Linked DNA regions of Homo sapiens: region 1 is linked to region 2. Evidence: promoter capture Hi-C in human tissues and cell types (Jung and others, 2019). All regions are on one chromosome and are shown on one strand. Each heading gives the region's core, a stretch centred on a gene start or on the middle of the fragment in contact. The rest is flanking DNA. Distances are from core to core; before and after follow the strand shown. Region 1 has its middle 91 kb from the start of CPXM2. Region 2 holds the start of GPR26 (G protein-coupled receptor 26).

Region 1 (7,075 bases), core at 674-3,173, 310 kb after region 2:
AATTTTCTCACTGTTCTAATTTTTGCAAAGGCAATTTCCAAAACATCTTTCAAAAATGAAGGGAAAATATTATTTAAAGACACCAAAACAGAAAAACCCAGTGTAAAATAAATGCCAATAGAAATTCTTCAGACAAAGGAAAAGAACCCAGATTTAAAAACTGAAATGCATGAAGAAATTGAAAGCTACAGAAAGAGTATATATGTAAATATAAATAAATATTAACCATACGAAACATCAAAAATGATGTCTAGTGGGATTTAAAATATATATTGACAAGAGTAAAGGAAAAGAATGGGAGCAATAAAGTATTCTAAGGTCTCAACATTGTGTAAAAGAAATAAAAGTCCTAAATTATATTAGACAATATTAAATCAAGGATACATGTTGCAACATTTACAGTAGTTACTAAAATACTTAAGTACCAAGTTTATATAGGGAAAATAGAATAATAAAACTATTCATCCAAAAGAAAGTAAAAAAAAAACCCAAGACATGGAAAAGCAACATAAAATGGGTACAACACAAAAAGTAAAATGGTAACTATAAATTCTAATATATTAATAATTATGTCAAATATAAATTGACTAAATACTTCAAGTAAGACCAAAATAGTCAGATCTGATTTTATTAACTCAAGTATATACTGGTTACAGGAGACCCACCTCAAAAGCAAAAAAGGATGAAAGTCAAAGTTGAAAAAAGCTATGCCAGATAAACACTAAACAAAAGAAAGCTGGTATCATTATTCTAATATCAGAAAAGTAGACTGGAAGGTAAGAAGCATTGCTAGACATAAAGCAGTTGCTTTGCAATGATAAAAGGATCAATCCACTCATAAAGCAAAAACAGACAGAACTAAAAAAGAAAAAGAGACAAATTCACAATAATATTCAGAGGCACAAACACACTCCTCTCAATATATGATAGAAATGCAAACAGAAAATCAGTAATAGCACAATTAGCCTGACCTAATTAACACTGTATCCTACAATGACAGAATATGCATTCTTTTTAAGTGCACACATAACATTTAATAAAATCAGTCATATGCTGGGTCATAAAACAATTCTCAACAGATTTCAAGGGATTTGAATCACTCTTGACAACTGTGAAATTAACCCTCTGACCACTGTGAAATTAATCTAGAAATTAATAACAAAAAGTTAATTAGGAAATCTCCTTTTCTGCTATGCTAGCAATCTCTGCCTCCAAATATATGTCAATGTCCTTTTAATTCATAGGAAAACTTGAAGGAAGGAAAAAAGACACTTCTTGAACAGAAATAAAATAGAAACTACAGCCAGCGGGTAATCCATGAGCCAACACACCAGGAGCCCAGGGAAACATCAAATGTGAACACATGTCCTAAGGGCTCACAGCTGGGTTTTGATGCTGATTAGGAGAAACGGAATATGACTTTGACCTGCATGAGGCAGAGGTGAACTAAGAACTCTGAGTAGAGTTGAGACCCTGGAAGACTGCCCCCTTCTTATAAGAGGAACTAGAAAAACTCAAGCAAAATCTCCAGAACCAAGCTTGACTGCACAGAAAAAGCAAAGGGGAAAAATATCCCACTGGAAATGGAAACTCCAAACTCATTCCATCCCAATCAGATGTAAAGTTTTAATTTATACTTCCCACAAAGTAAGGAAATCCCAAACCAAATATATATAAAATATAATTATAAATAAAATATAATCAATTATATAGATATTTTTATAAAATATAATTACATATATATGATATATTTATAAAATATAATTATATTATATACAATATATTTATATATATATAATGAATTTCAGAAGAGTGATCCCTTGGCTCCAAAACTAAAGCAAAGAGAACTCCTTTTCTAAAGACATCTTCAATGCCAGGCCACATGAGACTCCCACAGGGGAAAACAATGGCAACACCAGCTGAAGAAAACTTCCAATGATTTTTTTAAAATCACAAACTACACAAAGAAACAATTCACAATAAGGGAAGTCAGCAGATACAATCAACAGCATAATTAGATCCCCCAGACACTTGTGATGACAGAATAGCCCAAATCAAATTATATACCAAATACATTTTAAATGATTAAACACATAAAGAAGGGATAAAAATCATGTTGAAAAAATAAGCTTCTATTTAAAAAATAATAACAGCCTGACCTGAACATGAGCCAAATTGTAGTTCTCAGACTGAAAATGAACCCCAAAAGTCATTTAAAAACTTAATAGTTTAAATAGCAGAATTGATGGTTTAGACAAGTAGGAAGATTTGGTGAACTGGGAGATAAATGTAAGAGAATTTCACAGAATACAATGCAGATATGAAGAGGTATAAAATCTGAAAAAGAGCTAACTGAGTGAAATTGAAACATGAAAAACCATACAAAAGATCAACAAGCCATAAGTTTGTTCTTTGAAAAAATACGTAAGATAGACAGGCTACTAGCTAAACTCATGAAAAAAAGAGAGAAGATCCAAATCAACACAATTAGAAATGACAAAGTGGACATTATCACTGACCTCACAGAGATATTAAAAAACATCAGAGACTATTATGAACATCCCTATGCACACAAACTAGAAAACCTAGAAGAAATGAATAAATTCCTGAAAACATGCAACTTCCCAAGACTGAACCAGGAAGAAATTCAAACTTCGAACAGACCAACAATGAGTTCTGAAATTGAATGAGTAATAAATATCCTGCCAACCAGAAAAGCCCAGGACTAGATGGATTCACAGCCTAATTCTACCAGACATACAAAGAAGAGCTGGTACCATTCCTACTGAAACTATTCCAAAAAATTGAGGAAGAGGGACTCCTTCCTAACTCATTCTGTGAGGCCAGCATCATTCCAGTACCAAACCTGGCAAAGACCCAACAACAACAAAAAAAAGACTTCAGGACAATATCCTTGAACATAGATGCAAAAATCATCAACAAAATACTAGCAAACCAAATCCAAAGCCCATCAAAAAGCCAATCCATAACAATCAAGTAGGCTTTCCCTGGCATACAAAGTTGGGTCAACACACACAAATCAATAGATGTATTCATCACATAAACTGAACTAAAGGCAAAAACCACACGGTAATCTCAATAAATGCAGAAAAGGCTTTTAATAAAATTCAGCATCCCTTCCTGTTAAACACCCTCAACAAAGTAGGCATTGAAGGAACATGTTTCAAAATAATAAGAGCCATTTTCGACAAACCCACAGCCAACATCATACTGAATGGGCAAAAGCTGGAAGCATTCCCTTTGAGAACCAGAACAAGGCAAAGATGCCCACTCTTACCACTCCTTTTCAACATAGTACAAGAAGTCCTAGCCAGAGCAGTCAGGAAAGAGAAAGAAATAAAAAGCATCCATGGAGGAAGTCAAACTTTCTGTTGGCAGACAATATGATTTTATACCTAGAAAACCCCAGCCTCTGCCCAAAAGCTCCTAGACCTGATAAACAACTTTAGCCAAGTTTCCAGATACAAAACCAATGTACAAAAATTGGCAGCATTTCTGTACATCAATATCATCCAAGTTGAGTGCCAAATCAAGAACACAATCCCATTCACAATAGCCACAAAAGGAATGAAATACCTAGGAATACAGCTAACCAGGTAGGTGAAAGATCTCTACAACCAGAATTACAAAACCTACTGAAAGAAATCAAAGATGACACAAACAAATGAAAAAACATTCCATGTCCATGGATAGGAAGAATCAATATTGTTAAAATGGCAATATTGCCCAAAATAATTTACAGATTTAATGCTATTCCTATCAAACTACCAATGACATTCTTCACAGACTTAGTCAAAACTATTCTAAAACTTATATGGAACGAAAGAAAGAGCCCAAATAGACAACACAATCCTAAGCAAAAAGAACAAAGCTGGAAACATCACATTACCCTACTTCAAACTATACTACAAGTCTACAGTAACCACCACAGCATGTACAAAATAGACACATAGACTGATGGAACACAATAGAGAGCCCAGAAATAAAGCCTTAGAGCTACAGCCATCTGATCTTGGACAAAATCAGCAACAACAAAAAAGCAATGGGGAAAGGACTCTTTGTTCCACAAATGGTGCTGGGATAAGTGGTTATCCATATGCAGAAGATTGAAACTGGACCCCTTTTTTACACCATATACAAAAATCAACTCAAAATTAAAAATGTAAATGTAAAACCTAAAACTATAAAAAGCCTTGAAGAAAACCTAGGAAATACCACTGTAGAGATAGGCCCTGACAAAGATTTTATGACAAAAATGCCAAAAGCAATTGCAACAAAAATTGAAATGGACAAATAGGACCTAATTCAACTAAAGAGCTTCTGCACAGCAAAAGAAACTGTAAAACCGAGTAAATAGACAACCCACAGAATGGGAGAAAATATTTACAAACTATGCATCTGACAAAGGTCTAATATCCAGACACTATAAGGAACTTAAAAGAACTAACAAGCAAAAAACAAGCAACCCGATTAAAAAGTTGGCAAAGGACATGAACAGACGCTTTTCAAAAGAAGACATATATGTAATCAACAAGCATACAAAAAAATATTCAACATCACTAATCATTAGAGACATGCTAATCAAAACCACAATGAAATGACCATCTCAAACCAGTCAGAATGGCTATTACTAAAAAATCAAAAAATAACAGATGCTGGCAAGGCTGTAGAGAAAAGAGAAAACTTATACACTGCTAATGAGAATGCAAATTAGTTCAACCACTGTAGTAGAAAAGCAGTTCGGTGATTTCTCAAAGAACTTAAAACAGAACTACCATTTGACCCAGCCATCCCATTATTGGGTTTATACTCAAAGGAATATAAATCACTCTACTATAAAGACACATGCAAACATGTGTTCATTGCAGCACTATTCACAATAGCAAAGACAAGAAATCAACCTAAATGCCCATCAATTGTAGACTGAATAAAGAAAATGTGGTACGTATACACCATGGAATACTACACAGCCATTAAAAAGAACAAGATCTGTTCTTTGCAGGAACATGGATGGAGCTGGAGGCAATTATCCTAGGCACATTAATGCAGGAACAAAACACCAAACATCATGTATTCTCACTTGTAAGTGGAAGCTAAACATTGAGTATACATGGACACAAAGAAGTGAACAATAGACACTGGGGGCCGATTGGAGGGTGAGGAATGAGAGAAGGGTGAGGACCAAAAAAACTACCTATCAGGTACTATGCCTATTACCTGGGTGATGAAGTAATATGTACGCCAAATCCCCACAACATGCAATTTATCCCTAGAATCAACCTGCACATATACCTCTGAAACTAAAATAAAAGTTGAAAAAAAAAAAAAAGAAGCCGGGTGCAGTGGCTCATGCCTGTAATCCCAGCACTTTGGGAGGCTGAGGAGGGCGGATCACGAGTTCAGGAGATTGAGACCATCCTGGCTTACATGGTGAAACCCTGTCTCTACTAAAAAAATACAAAAAAATTAGCTGGGCCTGGTGGCAAGCACCTGTAGTCCCAGCTACTTGGGAGACTGAGGCAGGAGAATGGTGTGAACCTGGGAGGTGGAAGTTTGCAGTGAGCTGAGATTGCGCCACTGCGCTTCAGCCTGGGCATCACAGCGAGACTCCATCTCAAAAAAAAAAAAAAAAAAAAAAAAAAAGAAAAAGAAAATCTGAAAACGATTAAAAGGAATTAAGATTAAGAGAAAATCTGAAAAGATTAAGATTATGAGGAATAATGAATGAGGACCAACCTAGAATCTAGTAGTTCATTTTGTTGTTGTTATATTTTATTTTTAATTGACACACAATAATTGTACCTATTTATGAAGTACAGTGTCATGTTTTAATACATGTATGCATTCTGTAATGATAAAATCATGGTATTAAGCATATCCGTCACCTCAAACATTTATCATTTCCTTGTGATGAGAACCTTCAAAATCCTCTCTTCTAATTATTTTGAAATACATGATACAGTGTGAGGGGTCTTCAAGAAGTTCATGGAAAGTGCATATTATGAAAAAAACTACGCATGGATTGCAAAAATTTTTGCACAGAAATAAACACATACTAACTTATAATAGGGGCCTGAGCAGGATCTAGTTTGAGGAACTAAGAAGGGTAAGACATGGACTTAAAAACAGCCTGTATTAGGCTGTTCTCACATTGCTATAAAAAAAATACCTGAGACTGGGTAATTTATTAAGTAAAGAGATTTAATTGGCTCCCGGTTCTGCAGGCTGTACAAGAAGCACAGTACTGGAGTCTGCTTCTGGGAGGCCTCTGGAAGCTTACAATTATGGCAGAAGGTAAAGTGGAAACTTGCATGTCACATGGCAAAAGCAGTAGCAAGAGAGAGGAAGGGGGTAAGTGCTACACACTTAAACAATCAGATCTTGTGAGAACTCATGTACTCGCTATTATGAGAACAGCACCAAGGGGATGGTACTAAACCATTCTGGAGAAACATCTCCATGATCCAATCACCTCCCACCAGGCCCCACCTCCAACACTGAACATTACAATTCAACATGAGATTTGGGTGGGGACCCAGATCGAAACCGTATCAGAGCCCCGTCAGAGCAACATGAATTCTGCTAAAATTGAAGCAAGAACAAACACGAAATTTATGGTGAAGCTTGGATGGACAAATGATGAAATAATTGATGCTTTTCAAAAAGCTTATTAGAACAATGCCCCAGTGAGATCAGCAGTTTACACAAGGATAACTCAAAGGGATGGGAACATGCAGAAGTTTGGCCAACAGCAGCAGATCATCCACATCAATTTTCGAGGAAAAAATTAAGCTTCTTTGTGCCCTAACTGAAGAGGACTGACAATTCACAGAAGAAAAAATAGGCAAGACCATAGATATCTCAGTTGGTTCAGCATATACAATTCTGACTGTAAAATTATAACTGAACAAATGTTCCACTCAATAGGTGCCAAGCCCATTGTGCCCATGGCCCCCTGTGCAGTAACAGACCCATTACACTGGGACAGTAGGGGTTGCAGCAGAGAAAGGATTGATTGATTGCAGAGTGCTGAGCAAGGAAATGGGAGGAGACC
Region 2 (7,604 bases), core at 3,173-5,672:
CGAACATTCCATTGCTGCTGACTTCCCTCCAGCTTGAAGGAGCAAGCCATGCAGATCCAGCCACAATGTGTTCTCCTGGTGGGCACACTCCAGGCCTTGTTGCCCCTGGTCAGGTGGGATCAATCATGTGGCTTTTCATGGAGGTGCAGTGAGGACTTGTATCAAGGCCTGGATAGGGACATGCATCTCCCCTCCTTGCTGAGTGTGATCTCACTGCCAACTGGTGTCTGGGGCCATGTTGGAATCCATGTTTGGGGAGGCTCAGCCTGGCTGAAGCTAACAGGATTGGGGCCCTGGTTACTATGGGATATCAGCGCCCCCTCAAACCATGGTCCAACTGAAGGCAGGAAATTTTGCTTAAAACTAGAGGAAAATGAGCTCAGTCTCTTTAGGAAACTGAGTTAATATATTCTGAGTGTCTTTCTGGCATTTTAACCTTTCAATGTTGCCTTTAGGAATTCAGAAAGCAAATGATCTTTAAAATATGTGAGAGGGTATATAAATGTGTGTGTGTGTGTGTGTGTGTGTGTGTTCATTTGTTTATTGATGTTGGACCTAGTTACCAAGTCACCAACATCAGTTTGGTGTTGCAAAATTGAGACACTTTTAAGTTACAGCCCAAGGACACCTTCCTGAGAAGGTGGCTGAGGACCTCTGGAGTGTGCAGAAAGAGCCAAGCCATGGAGCTAGAGGTACTGGCTTCATCCCTCACCAACTCTGTCACTTAACTTCTTTGAGTCTTTGGGTTCTCATCTGGAAAACGTGGGGCAGCAATAGAAGCTTTTCTTCCTGTCTTTGTTGCAAGAACTAAATAAAGTATGGTAATGTTTGGACATGTTTTATAAACTCCAATGTGCTAGGAGAATATTAATTGACATGTTATATTGTCAATATAAATATAAATAAATATTTATATAAAGATATAAAAATATAAATGGGATCCCGCATGTCTAGAGTCTCTGGTGAGGCTTCAGTGAGTGCCTCCAGGCCAGAACATCAGGTCATGGTTGGAGGATGTGCCCAGGTGATTGTTTGGCATCCAGTGGCTTACCCTGACCATTTCTCATAGAGCACACTCCTGAGAGCATGACCACAGACCACCCTCACCAGAACTATCTAAGGAGCTCATGAAAATGCAGACTTCCAGACCTTCTGATTTGGAAACCCCAGGGGGTGTGGCCCAGGAATCAAACTCTTTAACCAGCACCCCAGGCTTACCAGGTGACTCTGATACACACAAAAGTGTGAGAATCACAGATCCAATAGTGACCCCAAAACATTGGCTGATTTACTCCACAGACAGTACTTGGGCACTATCTTAGTCTATTTTGTGCTGATATAACAGAATACCTGAGACTTGGTAATTTGTAATGAATAGAAATTTATTGTTCATGGTTCTGGAGGCTGGGAAGTCCAAAATTCAGGGGCTGGCATATGGTGAGGGACTTTTTGCTACATCATCCCCTGGCAGAAAGTGGAAGAGCAGAGGGAGGGAGACACACAGGGAGAGAGAGAGAGAGAGAAGGAGGGGGTGGTGGCAAACTCATCCTTTAATAAGGAACCCATTCCCATGATAATGGCACTAATCCACTTATGAAGGCAGTGCCTCCATGAGTCAAACACCTCCCATTGGGACCCACCTCCCAATACTGTTGCATTGGGGGTCAGGTTTCCAACACATGAACTTTGGGGGACACATTCAAACTATAGCACAAATAGCTCCTATCTCCTGCCAGGAGCTATTTGTAGGGGACACTTCCTTGGCAGCAGGAGAGACACACAGATGAACAGCGTCCTCTGCTGTCATATAACAGGTATTTAATGAGACATGTAGCCAACACTAAAATCTGTAGGCTACATGAGGGGGCCAAGGGTTGATGATATTGCTAGCATTCTGCCCTGTTTCCTTCTCTGGGAAGCAAAGCTAAACGTACACATTACCTTATGTAGTCATCACCACGGCTCTGAAAGGTAAATAAGAAAACCTAGCCTCAGGGATGTTGAGTAAGTTGCCCAGGGTCCTATGAAATCAGTGAGTGGTGTGTCGTTAAATGTTTAACCACAGGCTGGGGTGGGAGAAGCCCTGATCTATGGAGTTTGCTGATTTCTATAATGCAAAAACTCATTGTGGTGGATTTTAAGCAACCAACATGCTGTCACTGAAGCAGAGATGGAGAGAGATGCCCATAATGGGCCCTTTTGAGCTGGTGTGAGCTGGCTTCAGAACTCCACTGTCTGCAGCTGTCAGTCACTCAGATAACTGTCAATGAGTGTCATCTGTGGACACACAGAGAAGAGAGGGAATCTTGTTTCTGCCCTCCTGACACCTCATTTCATGAGCATTTAATAAAGTTTGGATGTTTGTCCCCTCCAAATCTCATGTTGAAACATAATCCCCAATGTTGGAGGTGGGCCCTGGTGGGAGGCGAAGGCGATTGGATAATGGGGGCAGAGCCCTCATGAATGGGTTGGCACCATCCTGAATGACTTCTCAGTCCATGAGAGATATGGTGTTTAAAAGCCTGGGACCTCCCCCTTCTCTTTCTGGCTTTCACTCTTGCCATGTGACATGCCTGCTCCCACTTTGCCTTTTGCCATGATTAGAAGCTTCCTGAGGCCCTCATCAGAAGCTGAGCAGATGTTGGAGCCATGATTGCATACCTTGCAGAATCATGAGCCAATTCAACCTCTTTTCTTCATCAATTACCCAATCTCAGGTATTCCTTTACAGCAAAGAAAAATGGCACAATACAGCATCTACAATGTGCTTGGTACTATGTGAAGGAGATAATTAAGTATAATGAGGTCTCTACCTTCAGGGCGTAGAGTCCACCACGTCCTTGCTTGGCTTACTTTATCTAGTGGCTTGAGGCCCAGGAATGTCCAGTCACCACTGGCCACACCAGGAGGCTCCAGAACAGGGCTTTCTATGTCCAGGACAGGGATCTGAGGTTGCTGACATGGTGCAGGGGGTCACTGCAGGGCAGCATCTCACAGAGTTGAAGGGGGCTGCAGGGGTTCTGAGAGCTGCCCCTGCCTGTCCATCCCCACCCCTTCCCCACAGAGTCTTGGTTGAGAACCGAAGGGCCACAGTCCCTGCACACTTTGCTGAGGGGAGGCAGGGGTCCCCTGTGTCCAGGGTCTCTGTTGCTTGGACCATGCCTGCCAGCTGACACCCTCCCCATTTTCTGAAGAGTTCTGGCACCTTATATCAGGCAGGTCCCTCATAAACTAGAATGTGCTGCCTCACCAGTCTCAGGGCAGAGGGGTGTGTGGCTTCAGGGCTACAGGAGGCAGCTGCTGGAACTTGGAGCAGGACAACAGAGTATCCACCATACTAGGGTTAGCTGTCTAGGCTGGTTGTGGACAGCCTGGCTTGCCCAGGTGGGAGCAGTCAGGGTCAGCAAAGGCATCTCCCAGCTGGAGAGATGCCCAGGGGATGTTACAGAGAGCCTCGGGGTCCCTGCAGCAGGCTTAGGATTCAGCCGAAGCTCTGGCTGTAGGGCGAGGGAAAGAAGGCACTGAGAATCGAGTAACCTCAGTCATGCAGCAGCTGTTCTTGGGACAGACAGGCTGGGACACTCACGTCAAGGTCTGCCAGGATAGCATGCAGGCGGGGACAGGTGGCACTGGGGCGTGAAGGTGTCCAGGCATCCCTTCCTTTTCTCAGAGAGATTTCCTTGACTCAGCCTGTCTTTGACACACACGGGGGGATGGAGGATGTTGGGGGAAGGGAGCCACAGTGAGCCAATCACCCTGCACCGGAGCCTTCGGGGCTGGTTCCCTCCGAGCCTGTAAGTGTGAGTGTGTGTGCGCGAGTGTGTCTGTGTGTGCACCAGTGGGGATTTCTGTGATAGAAGCAGCCAGATTCCAGAGACAGAGAGAAGAGGAGGGGGAAGAACAAGAGAGGGGAGAAAATTGGGGGTGGGAGAGACAGACGGAGAGAACAGCGCGGGGGGCGGGGAGAGGGAGAGAGGTGGAGGGGAGAGCAGAGAGAGAGAGAGCGAGCCAGAGAGCAGAGAGGGAGGAAGAGAGAAAGCAAGAGAGCGGGAGGGTGCGCGGAGCGGAGCGGAGACAGAGCTCGCGGGCATGGGGTGAGAGCGGGAGGAAGCAGAGGCAGAGGCGGAGCAGGGGCGCAGGTGCCTGCAACCCAGGATCCCGGGGCGCTAAAGGCTTCGGGTTCTACCGCACGCTCAGTCGCTGGCTCCAGAGGTGCTGCTGGGGGCCAGGGTTCACTGCCGCGCGCCAGGTGCCTGCCCGTGAGGCGGCGCGGGGCTCCCGGGTGGCTGCGCGCCCAGACGCCTGCCCGGGAGGCCGCCTGAGGCTCCGGGGTGGCCGCGCGCCCTCCTGGGAGCCATGGCGGCTGGGGCCGGTGGTCGCCGGGCGGCGGCGGCGCCGAGGGGCTGAGCCGGCCGCGGGCAGCGCCATGGCGGCGCCGGGTTGCGGACCCTGAGCGCCGGCGCGGGGCGCGCACCATGAACTCGTGGGACGCGGGCCTGGCGGGGCTACTGGTGGGCACGATGGGCGTCTCGCTGCTGTCCAACGCGCTGGTGCTGCTCTGCCTGCTGCACAGCGCGGACATCCGCCGCCAGGCGCCGGCGCTCTTCACCCTGAACCTCACGTGCGGGAACCTGCTGTGCACCGTGGTCAACATGCCGCTCACGCTGGCCGGCGTCGTGGCGCAGCGGCAGCCGGCGGGCGACCGCCTGTGCCGCCTGGCTGCCTTCCTCGACACCTTCCTGGCTGCCAACTCCATGCTCAGCATGGCCGCGCTCAGCATCGACCGCTGGGTGGCCGTGGTCTTCCCGCTGAGCTACCGGGCCAAGATGCGCCTCCGCGACGCGGCGCTCATGGTGGCCTACACGTGGCTGCACGCGCTCACCTTCCCAGCCGCCGCGCTCGCCCTGTCCTGGCTCGGCTTCCACCAGCTGTACGCCTCGTGCACGCTGTGCAGCCGGCGGCCAGACGAGCGCCTGCGCTTCGCCGTCTTCACTGGCGCCTTCCACGCTCTCAGCTTCCTGCTCTCCTTCGTCGTGCTCTGCTGCACGTACCTCAAGGTGCTCAAGGTGGCCCGCTTCCATTGCAAGCGCATCGACGTGATCACCATGCAGACGCTGGTGCTGCTGGTGGACCTGCACCCCAGGTGAGCCGAGCGCAGCTAAGGCTCTGGGAACAGCCGCGCGGGATCTCGGCGGGAGTGGGAGGTCCCTAGCCCCAGGGGCTCTTTTCCACCGAGCCTCTGTTTCTTCTGAGAACTCGAGGGTGGGGAAAGCGGCCCAGCTGTGGGGCTTAAGGAGGTGCTTAGGGTATCAGCAAACCAGGGCCACAAAAAATGCGGGTGAGCCCATCTATACATCGGTTTTTGAAGCATCAGGGTAGAAATCACAGACAGTCAGAACTCTGTTGGGCTTCTTCATGCACATTTTCTGTGTTTGTAGCTTTCACTTTAAATGGCACATGGGAAGTCCGTGGTCTTTGTTCCCTATTAAAGACCTTCAAAGTGTTTGATTCTGGCCGAGAGGGCGGCCTCGATGCTTAGGGAGCTCCTTAAGAGCTTTTCAGACCCAAGTGTGTCGCTTCTCTGAGTCTTTCCCTTCTCGGGTGTGTGGCGCTGCCTCTGTCTCACGACTGTGTGTGTGTGTGTGTGTGTGTGTGTGTGTGTGTGTGTGAATTCTGATGGACTCGGGCTGCGTCCTTCTCTGTGGTGGGCCCTGAGGGGTGGGGTGGGGGGCTCTTCCTGCCCTCCCCAGAGAGCACTGTCCAATGTCTGCCTGACTTGGTGCCTAGAGGCTCCTGCAGAAGGAGTGTGCCCCAAGGCTCCTGGGGCTGAATCTGCCCCCACCTCCGTCGTCACGCTGGCTGCTGTTCTCAGGAGGGCAGATGGAGCTGGGCAAGCATGGGTACCCTCTGGGAACCCCTGCCATCGCAGGAGCCTGTCAGGGAGAGAAGGAGGGAACTCTTAGCTGCGCTGTCCTGAGCTCACCTCAGCTTTCCCCAGGAGAATAGGAAATCGAGGAGGGAAACAGCTGGCAGCGTCTGGACTCTGCTATTTTACATCCTGTTGTCCCAGGGGAAGGCAGGCTCCCTGCTCTGTGTCCTGGGACCCTAGATAAGGGGGTGCTGGGGTCCAGATGGTGTCGCAGGTGAGGCAGGCAGAGAGCTCTGACAGGGCCAGCGAGGGCCTTCCGTGTGGGAGAACCCTGGGAACCCAGGGGAGCCTCGGGGCAGAGGAAGCTCTATCCTCTGGTGGATATGTTCCACACCAGGGTTGAAGGGGACAGGCTGGAGGTGTCAGGCTGAGCATTCTGAGTATTTCCTGCACGAGAGCAGTAACAAGCAGTCCTTGACCTTCACAATGCCGACACATTGAAGGGCAAGTGTGCACGTGTTCATTGTCCCCCTGAGCACAGCCATTCCTGATTACACACTGGACCAATCTTCCAGCCACAGAATCCCCACAGATTCAGGAACAGAATGTACATGTGAGTGACTGAGAGCACATAGATACCAGGCCATGTAAACGTGGGAGCTCCACACACAATCTCATGTGTTCACACATAAACTGTATATGTACCAGACAGCTGGCCATGTGTACACAGGTTTACAGGAGTGACACGAGTGCATTCTGCCACAAAGACATACATTGGCTGTCACAGCACATGTCTCTGCATGGTTCAGTGTCCTTCAAGGAAATATTTGCAGCCACAGTTGCAGAGCTATTGCCCTTTCCATGACTCAGAGCTGAGAGGCTCTTCCTTAGAGGGTGCATCCTTAGCGCTTGGGCTGGGACTGCTCTTAGAAGATGTAGGGCAATGTTGTTTAACTCCCGGGACTAAAGACTCCTAGAGGGGGCCCTCTCACCATGAGTCTAACAGCGGAGGAGGGTTGAGCTGGGAGTGGAACCAGTTCTTATTTAGAGCAGTACAAACTGCATTCCCACTCTTCCTCCAACTTCCAGAAGAGGAGGGGCCGTGGTTCCTGTTCAGCCTATTTGGGATGTAGGGCCAGCTCCACTCCTGCAAATCCCTCTGGCCGATGTCAGGCCAGACACTGCAGAGAGAGTCCTGGGGTCTCAGGAGTGGAGGCAGCTACTCTGCTTGCCTTCGATTTCCCCTCCATTCCTCTGGGAGGACCTTGATCTCTTCCTAGCCCCGGGCTGCTTTGAAGAGCCCCTGCTCCCAGTGCCCTGGGACCCTCCAGGCCCAGTCTCATTGGAGAGAGAAAAGACTTCTGGGGCCGGGGTTGCCATCGGCCAGTGCCAACAGGCTCCCTGGACTAATGCTCCCTGAGGTCATGGAATAGTGGCAGACCTGATAGCACTGCCCCTTTAGTGAATACAAACTTGTCCTTCTCTGAGGGGTTGATCCCCGCCAAGCATGTGGGAGGGACAACACAGGAGGGGATGACCAGTCCTCAAGAGACCCTGACAGCCAGTCCACCAGCTTCTATCTTGACAGCACTAAACTCTTCCTCCCTACAAATGAGCAAGTACAGAGCTAGCTCAGGGGCTGCCCCAGGCACCACCAGTCTCAGGCAGTGAGCCTCTCAGGGCCATTCGGTGCTGAGAGCCTGTAGGACCCAGGAGTGCTGGTCTTGGGCAGCAG

The links. The method cuts DNA at HindIII sites, captures the fragments that hold promoters and counts their contacts. A contact is called where the count stands out against the background at its distance.
Region 1: a fragment that was not itself captured here is called in contact with the fragment with the promoter of GPR26 in region 2 in 3 of the 25 tissues and cell types used here (adrenal gland, mesendoderm cells and neural progenitor cells).

What each region holds. Positions count from the first base shown.
Region 1 is chr10:123,978,803-123,985,877 of GRCh38, forward strand. No RefSeq gene overlaps it. Among named protein-coding and RNA genes, the nearest start is that of CPXM2, 91 kb to the left of the region's middle. The HindIII fragment of the contact is 4,578 bases long and covers 1-4,212 here.
Region 2 is chr10:123,661,933-123,669,536 of GRCh38, forward strand. GPR26 (G protein-coupled receptor 26) reads left to right here and starts at 4,423. Exons shown (of 3, transcript NM_153442.4): 1 at 4,423-5,143. The coding sequence starts at 4,476. RefSeq lists enhancers at 3,631-4,168, 4,169-4,707, 4,708-5,245. The HindIII fragment of the contact is 11,073 bases long and covers 1,694-7,604 here.